2 separate regions of the Homo sapiens genome follow, and region 1 is linked to region 2. Evidence: promoter capture Hi-C in 16 types of primary human blood cells and fetal thymus (Javierre and others, 2016). All regions are on one chromosome and are shown on one strand. The core of a region is centred on a gene start or on the middle of the fragment in contact, and the rest is flanking DNA. Distances in the headings are between cores, read along the strand shown. Region 1 has its middle 33 kb from the start of S100A6. Region 2 holds the start of SNAPIN (SNAP associated protein).

Region 1 (4,228 bases), core at 1,615-4,114, 160 kb after region 2:
GTCGTCCAGGCTGGAGTGTAGTGGTGTAATCTTGGCTCACTGCAACCTCTGCCTCCCGGGTTCAAATGATTCTCCTGTCTCAGCCTCCTGAATAGCTGGGATTACAGGCTCACACCACCATGCCTGGCTAATTTTTGTATTTTTAGTAGAGATGGGGTTTCACCATATTGGCCAGGCTGGTCTTGAAGTCCTGACCTCAGGTGATGTCCACAAACCTCGGCCTCCCAAAGTGCTGGGATTACAGGTGTGAGCCACCACACCTGGTCAGCTTCTCTTTTTCTCTGAAGTGAGTCTTAGTAGAGGAGTTTTTCCCCTCAAAATATCTAAAACACTAAGACATCCCTTCAGAAGCCCCCACGTTGACACTATGTCATAGCAACATGTACCCTTGGTGACTCTCCTCTGCCTCACTATTCGAGTCACTGTCCTCTGCCCACACTTGTACCACTGCTTTCCACCAACACACACACACCTGGGGAAATGGAAAGATTAATACTGTATTAAGATCATTTTTCCCACTTGGCCCTGCAAATGACTCTGGGAGGTAGGTGGGTTGGGCAGGTTGGGTTTACCCCTATTTTGCAGGTAAGGAAACAGAGGCTCAGGGAAGTGAAAAGCTGTGGCCATGCCTCAGGGCTGGTGCCAGGGCTGAGTTGCAAACCCAGGTGATCTGGTGCCAGGCTGAGATGGCAGTGCCACTGTGAGGCAGTATGGCATTGCAGAAGGCAGCAGGGAGTTAGACTTTGACTTAGAAAGAGCAGCTAACTTCTGTGAGACTTAGTTTCATCAGCTGAAAAACTAGTGTTTTAGTCTGTTTTTTGGTGCTTCAGAATACCTGAAACTGGGTAATTTATAAAGAAAAGGAATTTATTTCTTACAGTTTTGGAGACTGAGAAGTCCAGGGTCAAGGGGCTGCATCTGGTGAGGGTCTTCTTGCTGGTGGGGACTCCCTGCAGAGTTCTGAGGCAGCACAGAGCATCAAGTGGTGCTGGGGCTGAGTGCGCTGGCTCAGGTCTCTCTTCCTCCTCTTATAAAGCCACCAATCCCACTCCCATGATCACCCATTAATCCGTTAATCCATTTATCCATGAATGAATGGATTAGTGGATTCGTGGGGCTAGGGACCTCATGACCCAATCACCTTTTGCAGGCCTCATCTCCCAGTACTGCCACACTGAAGATTAAATTTCAACATGAGTTTTAGGGAGGCCAAATATTCAAGCCATAGCAATGGGATACAATTATCTATCCTATAAAGCTGCCTTGAGTCTTAAAAGAGAGCTTCCAATTTAAAAGGCACCTGGCCCACAGACCGTGACACCATCATATTCTTGTGAAATGGCTCCTGAAGGTAGGGAGTAAGGCAAAATGTCTACACTACCCAGCCCAACAAACAGCAAGCACAAGGAAATATGAAGACCCTGGGTCAGTGCTCTGCGCTCCGTTCTCTCTTAGACTAGTTTCTACAGCCCGTGAAAGTGTGGGAGGACACCTGGTAACTGCGCAGTAATTTGCACACTTGAGTGGGCACTGGGATCACCGGAGGGCTTGTTAGAACACAGATCTCTGGGCCCCTATCCCAGAGGTCCTAACACAAGCAGGTCTGTGGTGGCCTGAGACTCTGTATTTCTAGTAAGATCCCAGGTGCCGTTGTTGCTGCCGTTCTGGGGACCACATTTTGAGAACTGCTGTCCTACAGGGTCTGCTCCTGGGAGGGCCCAGAGACAGGGTGTGGGGATCCCTTTGTGTTTTCTCTCCCAACCAGGCTTCACTGAATGGTTTCTGGAGCCCGTCCTGCATCCAGGCAGCTGGACCAGCGTCACTGGCAGCTTTAGTGAATGCGGTTAGTGAAGAACCAGAAAAAACAGGTGTCACACTTTTGGTGCTTGAATTTTTTTTTTTTTTAAATTTTTGAGACGGAGCTGACTCACTCTGTCATCCAGGCTGGTGTTCAGTGGCATGATCTCGGCTCACTGCAACCTCTGCCTCCCAGGTTCAAGCGATTCTTCTGCCTCAACCTCCCGAGTAGCTGGGATTGCAGGTGCGCACCACCACACCCAGCTAATTTTTGTATTTTTAGTAGAGACGGGGTTTCACCATGTTGGCCAGGCTGGTCTCGAACTCCTGACCTCATGATCCACCTGCCTCGGCCTCCCAAAGTGCTGAGATTACAGATGTGAGCCACTGTGCCCGTCCTGGTGCTTGCATTTTAAAAAGCCAGGGTAGAGGTGCAAGATAATAAAGATTTGGAAGCATATGTAAGCGTTCCCTAAGCTTCCTACCATGACCCCAGCCAATCCATATGGGACGACTGGTGGGGGCAGGAGCTGAGAGCACTGAGCTCACAGAACAGTTCTAGCCCTGAGATGGCCCTCCCAGCACTGATCAGTGCCAGCAGGAGGAACATAGGGCCTGGACACTTCACTGAGCCTCCCATCCCACCCACCAAAGGCCCACATGGGTGGTGGGGCCTGGAAACCGAGGGAGGTGGTGGTGCATGGAAGGGGTAGTCTTCCATCCCCTGCCCCAACTTGGGCAAGATGGAGCTTCCTGGCTACATAGGGTTACTACCAAACAGACAACTCCTTGTAGGGCTTATTTTATTTTATATTTTAATTTAATTTAATTTAATTTAATTTAATTTAATTTAATTTAATTTAATTTAATGTTAGTGTTTGCCTTCCTATCTGCCTATCACTATAAGGCAGCCAGAGCCCTGAGCTCTTCCTTGGTCTTCCCAATATTTCTGTATCTAACAAGAGAATAAAGGATCATTGGGCAGAAAGTAGACGTAAGAGAGAAGAAAGAGAATACTGGGAGTGGTGCATGGCACCCTCATTGTTACAATAAGAGTAGCTCCTAACAGTGTCCATCAACATTGCTGGATGTCAGTCACAACAGGCATGGACAGCAGGTAAATAGCCACAACAAATGCCAACTTTCTCTAGAGCTGTAGCATCTACCACATAGATTTTGTGTAGACCAAAAGGGCTCTCTGCAACCCAGGCAAAATGTATAAAAACACAGATATGCCTAGACACTCTCAGGCAAAAGTATTGCTCAAAGGAAAATAAAAAGATTGCCTATAAAAGAGCAATTCAAGTGAATCTCATATTTCTTAGAAGTTACAAATAAGCAAAATCTTCAGTTTTTGAGGAAAGAAAAGGTTGTGCCTCAGAATTGCATAAACATAATTAAGCAGCTAGCCATCTGTGAGGACACCAGAAAAATATCCCTAGATATACAAAGGTCCCTAATATTCTCTTCTTGAAGTAAAGAATCATGTTCTCTTCTTGAAGTAAATTACTTCAAGACTGGCTAAAAGATGAATAAAAATTTTAAGAATTCTGGAATGGTGACTTAGAATTCTTGATGGTAAACCAATAAAACTGGTTAAACATACTGTTAGATCTAAATAATTGAAATATAATAATAAAATTTACTGTAAGCTTAAAAAATAATTATTTCAAGAAAAAATAAAATGAAAATACAATTAATTAGCAATAATCAGGCTGGGCCCTGTGGCTCACACCTGTAATCCCAGAACTTTGGGAGGCCGAGGTGGTAGGATCACCTGAGGTCAGGAGTTCGAGACCAGTCTGGCCAACATGGTGAAACCGCGTCTCTACTAAAATACAAAAATCAGCTGGGTGTGGTGGTGGGCACCTGTAATTCCAGCTACTCGGGAGGCGGAGGCAGGAGAATCGCTTGAACCTGGGAGGTGGAGGTTGCAGTGAGCCGATATTGTGCCACTGCATTTCAGCCTGGGCGACAGAGCGAGACTCCCTCTCAAAAAAGAAAAAAGAATTAGCAAGAATCAGAGTTTAAGTCACAAGCCATATTGCTGGACACCAGTAAGTAGCAAGCAGATTGAGAAAGAGTAAAAGTGTATTAATTTCCTCATTTTACATGAGGAGAATAAAAGGATATACATTTATTCTTAATTTTCAAGATTAGAATAATATTTGTAAAAATGTTTTTGAAAATCTTTAAAGTACATGCAGGGAAAATGGAGAGAAAAATATGTTTTCCAAATAACCAGAGCATCTGATAAAACAAAACAGGACACATAAAATGAAAGCAGAAAGCAAAGGAAAGGGTGAGGAAGTATTAAAAAGAAAAACAGGCTGGGTGTAGTGGCTCACACCTGTAATCCCAGCACTTTGGGAGGCCAAGGCGGGAGGGTCGCTTGAGGCCAGGAGTTCAAGACCAGCCTGGCCAACCAGAC
Region 2 (4,615 bases), core at 75-2,574:
GTGGTGGTTCACTCCTGTAGTCTCAGCACTTCGGGTGGCCAAGGTGGGAAGCTCACTTGAGCCCAGGAGTTCCAGACCAGCCTGGGCAACATGGAGAAACCCTACTTCTACAAAAAAATACAAAAATTAGCTGGGCGTTGTGCACGCTTGTAGTCCTAGTTACTCGGGAGGCGGAGGCAGAATTGCTTGAGCCCAGGGGGCGGAGGTTGCAGCGAGCTGAGATTGAGCCACCGCACTCCAGCCTGGGTGACAGAGGGAGACTGTCACACACACACACACAAGAATGTAAATGGCAGCAACTGAATAGTGAGAATGAGACGAATTTTCCTAGGTATTTTTCAAGTACTGGGAGAAGTGAATTTCCCTTTCCCCAAAGAATTTTAAAATTACAGTGGCTTTCACTGTGTTGAGGACTTACAAAAAAGGGCAAAGAATCACTGTTGGTAAGATATTCTTTTACCTGAGCATTCTGTAGAATGTTGTTAACCAAGACAACGCGTCGCCGGGCATTAAGTAGCTTCTTAACATAGGGGTCAAGATCCAGGGCCACCTTCTGATCCTCATTTATGCGGCACAGTTCTGGGGATGGAAGTAAGGTGCAGCTAAGATCTAACGGCTTATCTCTTGTTCTGAGGGAAAGCAGGCTGGTAATGGGATGGAAAACACTTGCACCCAAACGGGCCACAGCCATTAGAGATTTAAGACATCCCTGAAAGGAGGAGTCCTTTGGCAGCCCTGATGCCCTGGAAGCAAGTGACAGAAACTCAGCCCAGGGGTTGGCAAAAACCTAAGGTCCTGAAAGTGGGCTGAAGAATTCCGGGTACACAGGGATGCTCACTCACCTGTGGCTAGGTTGTCAATTTGTTCCCGGAGCTCTACCTGGCTCTCTCTGCAAAGAGGTACAAGGCCTACAAGGTCAGGCAGTTACCGGAGCTCAGGAAACGAACTCCCCTACGTATTTACCAAGTACTGAGAGAAGCCGGCCTCCGCTGAACCCTCCACCTGCGGCCTTCCCGCCTGTCCTCCCCGCCTCGAATCAGTTTCCTAAATTTATGCCCACTCCCAGCCAGAACACTTTCTTGGCCCCGCCCCTACAAAGCCAGAGAGACAGGCCCCGCCCCCAACTTCCCTCCCGGGCACCTGACGGCGTGTACGTGAGAGTCGAGCTGCTGCACAGCGGGTCGCAGGAACTCCAGCAGCCCTTCGGCGAAAAGGTCGCGGCCTGTGGGCCCCGCCACCGGGGTCCCTGCCCCCGATACAGCGGCGGAACCAGCCCCCGCCATCACGAATTGTCCTGAAGCCCGAAACCTGCCGCGAGGGCCGCCGGGAACCGGAGCCGCGCCGCACTGCCCCGCCCCGTGAGGGGGCGCCCGGGAAATGCTGTCTCCACCAAGACACCGGGGTTTCTGGGAAATGGAGTCTAGCGCGAACCGGGCGGGGAGGAGGGCCAGGCCGTAGGAGTAGAGGCCTTGTGGCTGGTCTTGAAAATCTCCAAAGTTCAGGTTGTAGAAAGGAACCAGTTTTTGGAGTGGATACTTTTCGTTTTCTTTAAAGGTGAAAATAAACGCGAATACCTGCAGTTGTCCATAGCCTTCCCATGTTAACTTTATGAGATAGCCGGGCATGGTGGCGGGCACCCAGCTACTTGGGAGACTGAGGCAGGAGAACCGCTTGAACCCGGGAGGCGGAGATTGCAGTGAGCCGAGATCGCGCCACTGCACTCCAGTCTGGGCAACAGAGAGACTCCGCCTCAAAAAAAAAAAAAAAAAAAAAAAAAGCAACCCAAACCAAACAAAAACAAACCAAAAACAAAAACACTTTATGAGAAAGCCACATTATATTCATAGTATCGTTTTCTATTTCTAAAGAGTTTATTGTGGTTGGTTGTTTTTAAGACAAGGTCTCTCTCTGTCGCCTAGGCTGGAGTGCAGTGCCACCGTCTTGGCTCACTGTAGCCTTCACCTCCTGGGGTCAAGAGGTCCTCCTGCTTCAGTCTCCCAAGTAGCAGGGACCACAGGTGTTAGCCACCATGCCTGACTAATTTTTCATTTTCTGTAGAGAAGAGGTCTCACTATGTTTGTTGCCCAGACTGGTCTCGAACTCCTGGGCTCAGGTGATCCTCCCAACTCAGCCTCCTAAAGTGCTGGGATTACAGACGTGAGCCACCACGCCTGGTCTATTTCTAAAGAGTATATTTTTAATGGCATTAAATATGTAAAAAACTGCATGTATCCGAATTTCATTCCTTTTTAAGGCTGAATAATATAAACATGCAGGCAGGGCATGGTGGCTCACTCCTGTAATCCCAGCACTTTGGGAGGCTGAGGCGGGAGGATCACCTGAGCCCAGGAGTTCGAGATCAGTCTGGGCAACAAACCTAGTGAGACTCTGTCTCTACAGGAAATAAAAAATTAGCCAGGCGGCCAGGCGCAGTGGCTCACGCCTGTAATCCCAGCACTTTGGGAGGCCGAGGCGGGTGGATCACGAGGTCAGGACATCGAGACCACGGTGAAACCCCATCTCTACTAAAAATACAAACAATTAGCCGGGCGCAGTGGCGGACTCCTGTAGTCCCAGCTACTCGGGAGGCTGAGGCAGGAGAATGGCGTGAACCCGGGAGGCAGAGCTTGCAGTGAGCCCTGATCGCGCCACTGCACTCCAGCCTGGGCGACAGAGCGAGACTCCATCTCAAAAAAAAAAAAAAAAAAAAAAATTAGCCAGGCATGGTGGCTCACAGCTGTGGTCCCCGCTACTTGGGAGGCTGAAGTAGGAGGACCTTGAGCCTAGGAAGTTGAGGCTACAGTGAGCCAAGATCGTGGCACTGCATGCACTTCAGCCTGGGTGACAGGGTGAGACCCTGTCTCAAAAAATAAAAATTAAAAAAAATTTTTTTTTGAGACCGAGTCTTGCTCTGTCACCCAGGCTGGAGTGCAGTGGTGCAATCTCGCTCACTGCAAGCTCCGCCTCCCGGGTTCATGCCATTCTCCTGCTTCAGCCTCCCGAGTAGCTGGGACTACAGGCGCCCACCACCACGCCCGGCTAATTTTTTGTATTTTTAGTAGAGATGGGGTTTCACCACGTTAGCCGGGATGGTCTCGATCTCCTGACCTCGTGATCCACCCGCCTCGGCCTTCCAAAGTGCTAGGATTACAGGCATGAGCCACCGCGCCCGGCCATAAAAATAAATTTTAAAGTTTCCTTAGTTCACTTATTTTTCCTTTCATTTTTAGAGACAAGGTCTCACTCTGTTGCTGAGGCTGGAGTGCAGTGATGTTATCATAGCTCACTGTAACCTCAAACTTCTGGGCTCGAGCCATCCTCCTGCCTCAGCCTCCTAAGTAACTGGGACTACAGTCACCTGCCCCCATGCCTGGCTAATTTTTTAAATTTTTTTGGTACAGGCAGGGTCTCCCTATGTTGCCCAGGCTGTTCTCGAACTCCTGGCCTCAAGACACCCTTCCATGGTTTTCTTTTTCCCTGAGAATTATGAAGACAATGATTCCTTCCTTAGTTTAGTTCGGTTTGGTTTTTCATGGCTTTCCAGATAATTTACATCTGTCTCCTAGGCTCTAATGTGTTCCCGTGGCTCCCAATTCCCTAGGCCATGGGGAAGGATGTATGAGCAGAAATGCTCCTGGAGGACAGGCAAAGGCATCCATAGTGATAAATGGGCACCAGAACGTTCAGCTTTGAGCTTCATCTTCAGTAATAAAGGAAGATAAGGCATTTGAATCACTGTGAGATTTGGTGGTCAGCAGCTCTAAACCTAAGACCCCAACTGTGATAACTTTTTTTTTATTATTATTTTTTGTAGAGACGAGGCCTCCCTATGTTGCCCAGGCTGGTCTTGAACTCCTGCATCAAGCAGTCCTCCCACCTCGGCCTCCCAAAGTGCTGGGATTACAGGCGTGAGCCACCAAGCCCAGCCCCAACTGTGATAACTTTTAAAACCTTATACACTTACACTGGGTGGGGTGGCTCATGCCTGTAATCCCACCACTTTGGGAGGCTGAGGCGGGAGGATTGCTTGAAGCCAGGAGTTCAAGACCGGCCTGTGCAACATAGGGAGACTCCCATCTCTACAAAAAAATTAATAAAAAAAATAACTGGGCATGGTGGCACACACCTGTAGTTCCTGCTACTCGAGAGGCTGAGGTGGGAGGATCACTTGAGCCTGGGAGGTAGAGGTTGCAGTGAGCTGTGATCATGCCACTGCACTCCAGCCTGGGTGAAAGAGCAAGACTCTGTCTCACACACACACACACCAAAAACCACCTTATACACTTTTTGTCGTTGATTACGTTTGTATCCCTGTATCTTCCTCTCTGGTGATTAGAGGTAAAGCTCTTGCGAGAGGCTAGGAGCTTATTTTGGGAGTAAGTGGCAAGGCAACTGCAACCTGCTTCACAGTCAGGCCTTGGGAAAAGGAAGCCCAGGGGAGAAAGTAGTGACAGTGTTGAAGAGGAATGGAAAAGTGTTGAAATCTCTGAGGCTTGTACTGCAAAGAGAGAACAGGTGTTGACCTGGGCTGGGAGAGGGCCTTGGAGGTTGATGGCCCACTGTTTGCACAAGAAGCCCTTGTGTGTTAGGCCACTGTCCTTTCAGGTGCCTCTTC

The links. Contacts are between HindIII fragments. The CHiCAGO score rates a contact against its expected background, and 5 or more counts as called.
Region 1: a fragment that was not itself captured here is called in contact with the fragment with the promoter of SNAPIN in region 2 in 5 of 17 cell types (M1 macrophages, M0 macrophages, megakaryocytes and 2 more); the score reaches 7.9 in M1 macrophages.

The regions. Positions count from the first base shown.
Region 1 is chr1:153,500,799-153,505,026 of GRCh38, reverse strand. No RefSeq gene overlaps it. Among named protein-coding and RNA genes, the nearest start is that of S100A6, 33 kb to the left of the region's middle. The HindIII fragment of the contact is 1,175 bases long and covers 2,277-3,451 here.
Region 2 is chr1:153,655,412-153,660,026 of GRCh38, reverse strand. It overlaps SNAPIN (SNAP associated protein), which reads right to left and starts at 1,324. Exons shown (of 4, transcript NM_012437.6): 1 at 1,141-1,324; 2 at 843-889; 3 at 461-579. The coding sequence starts at 1,283. RefSeq lists an enhancer at 1,479-1,558. The HindIII fragment of the contact is 14,460 bases long and covers 1-4,615 here.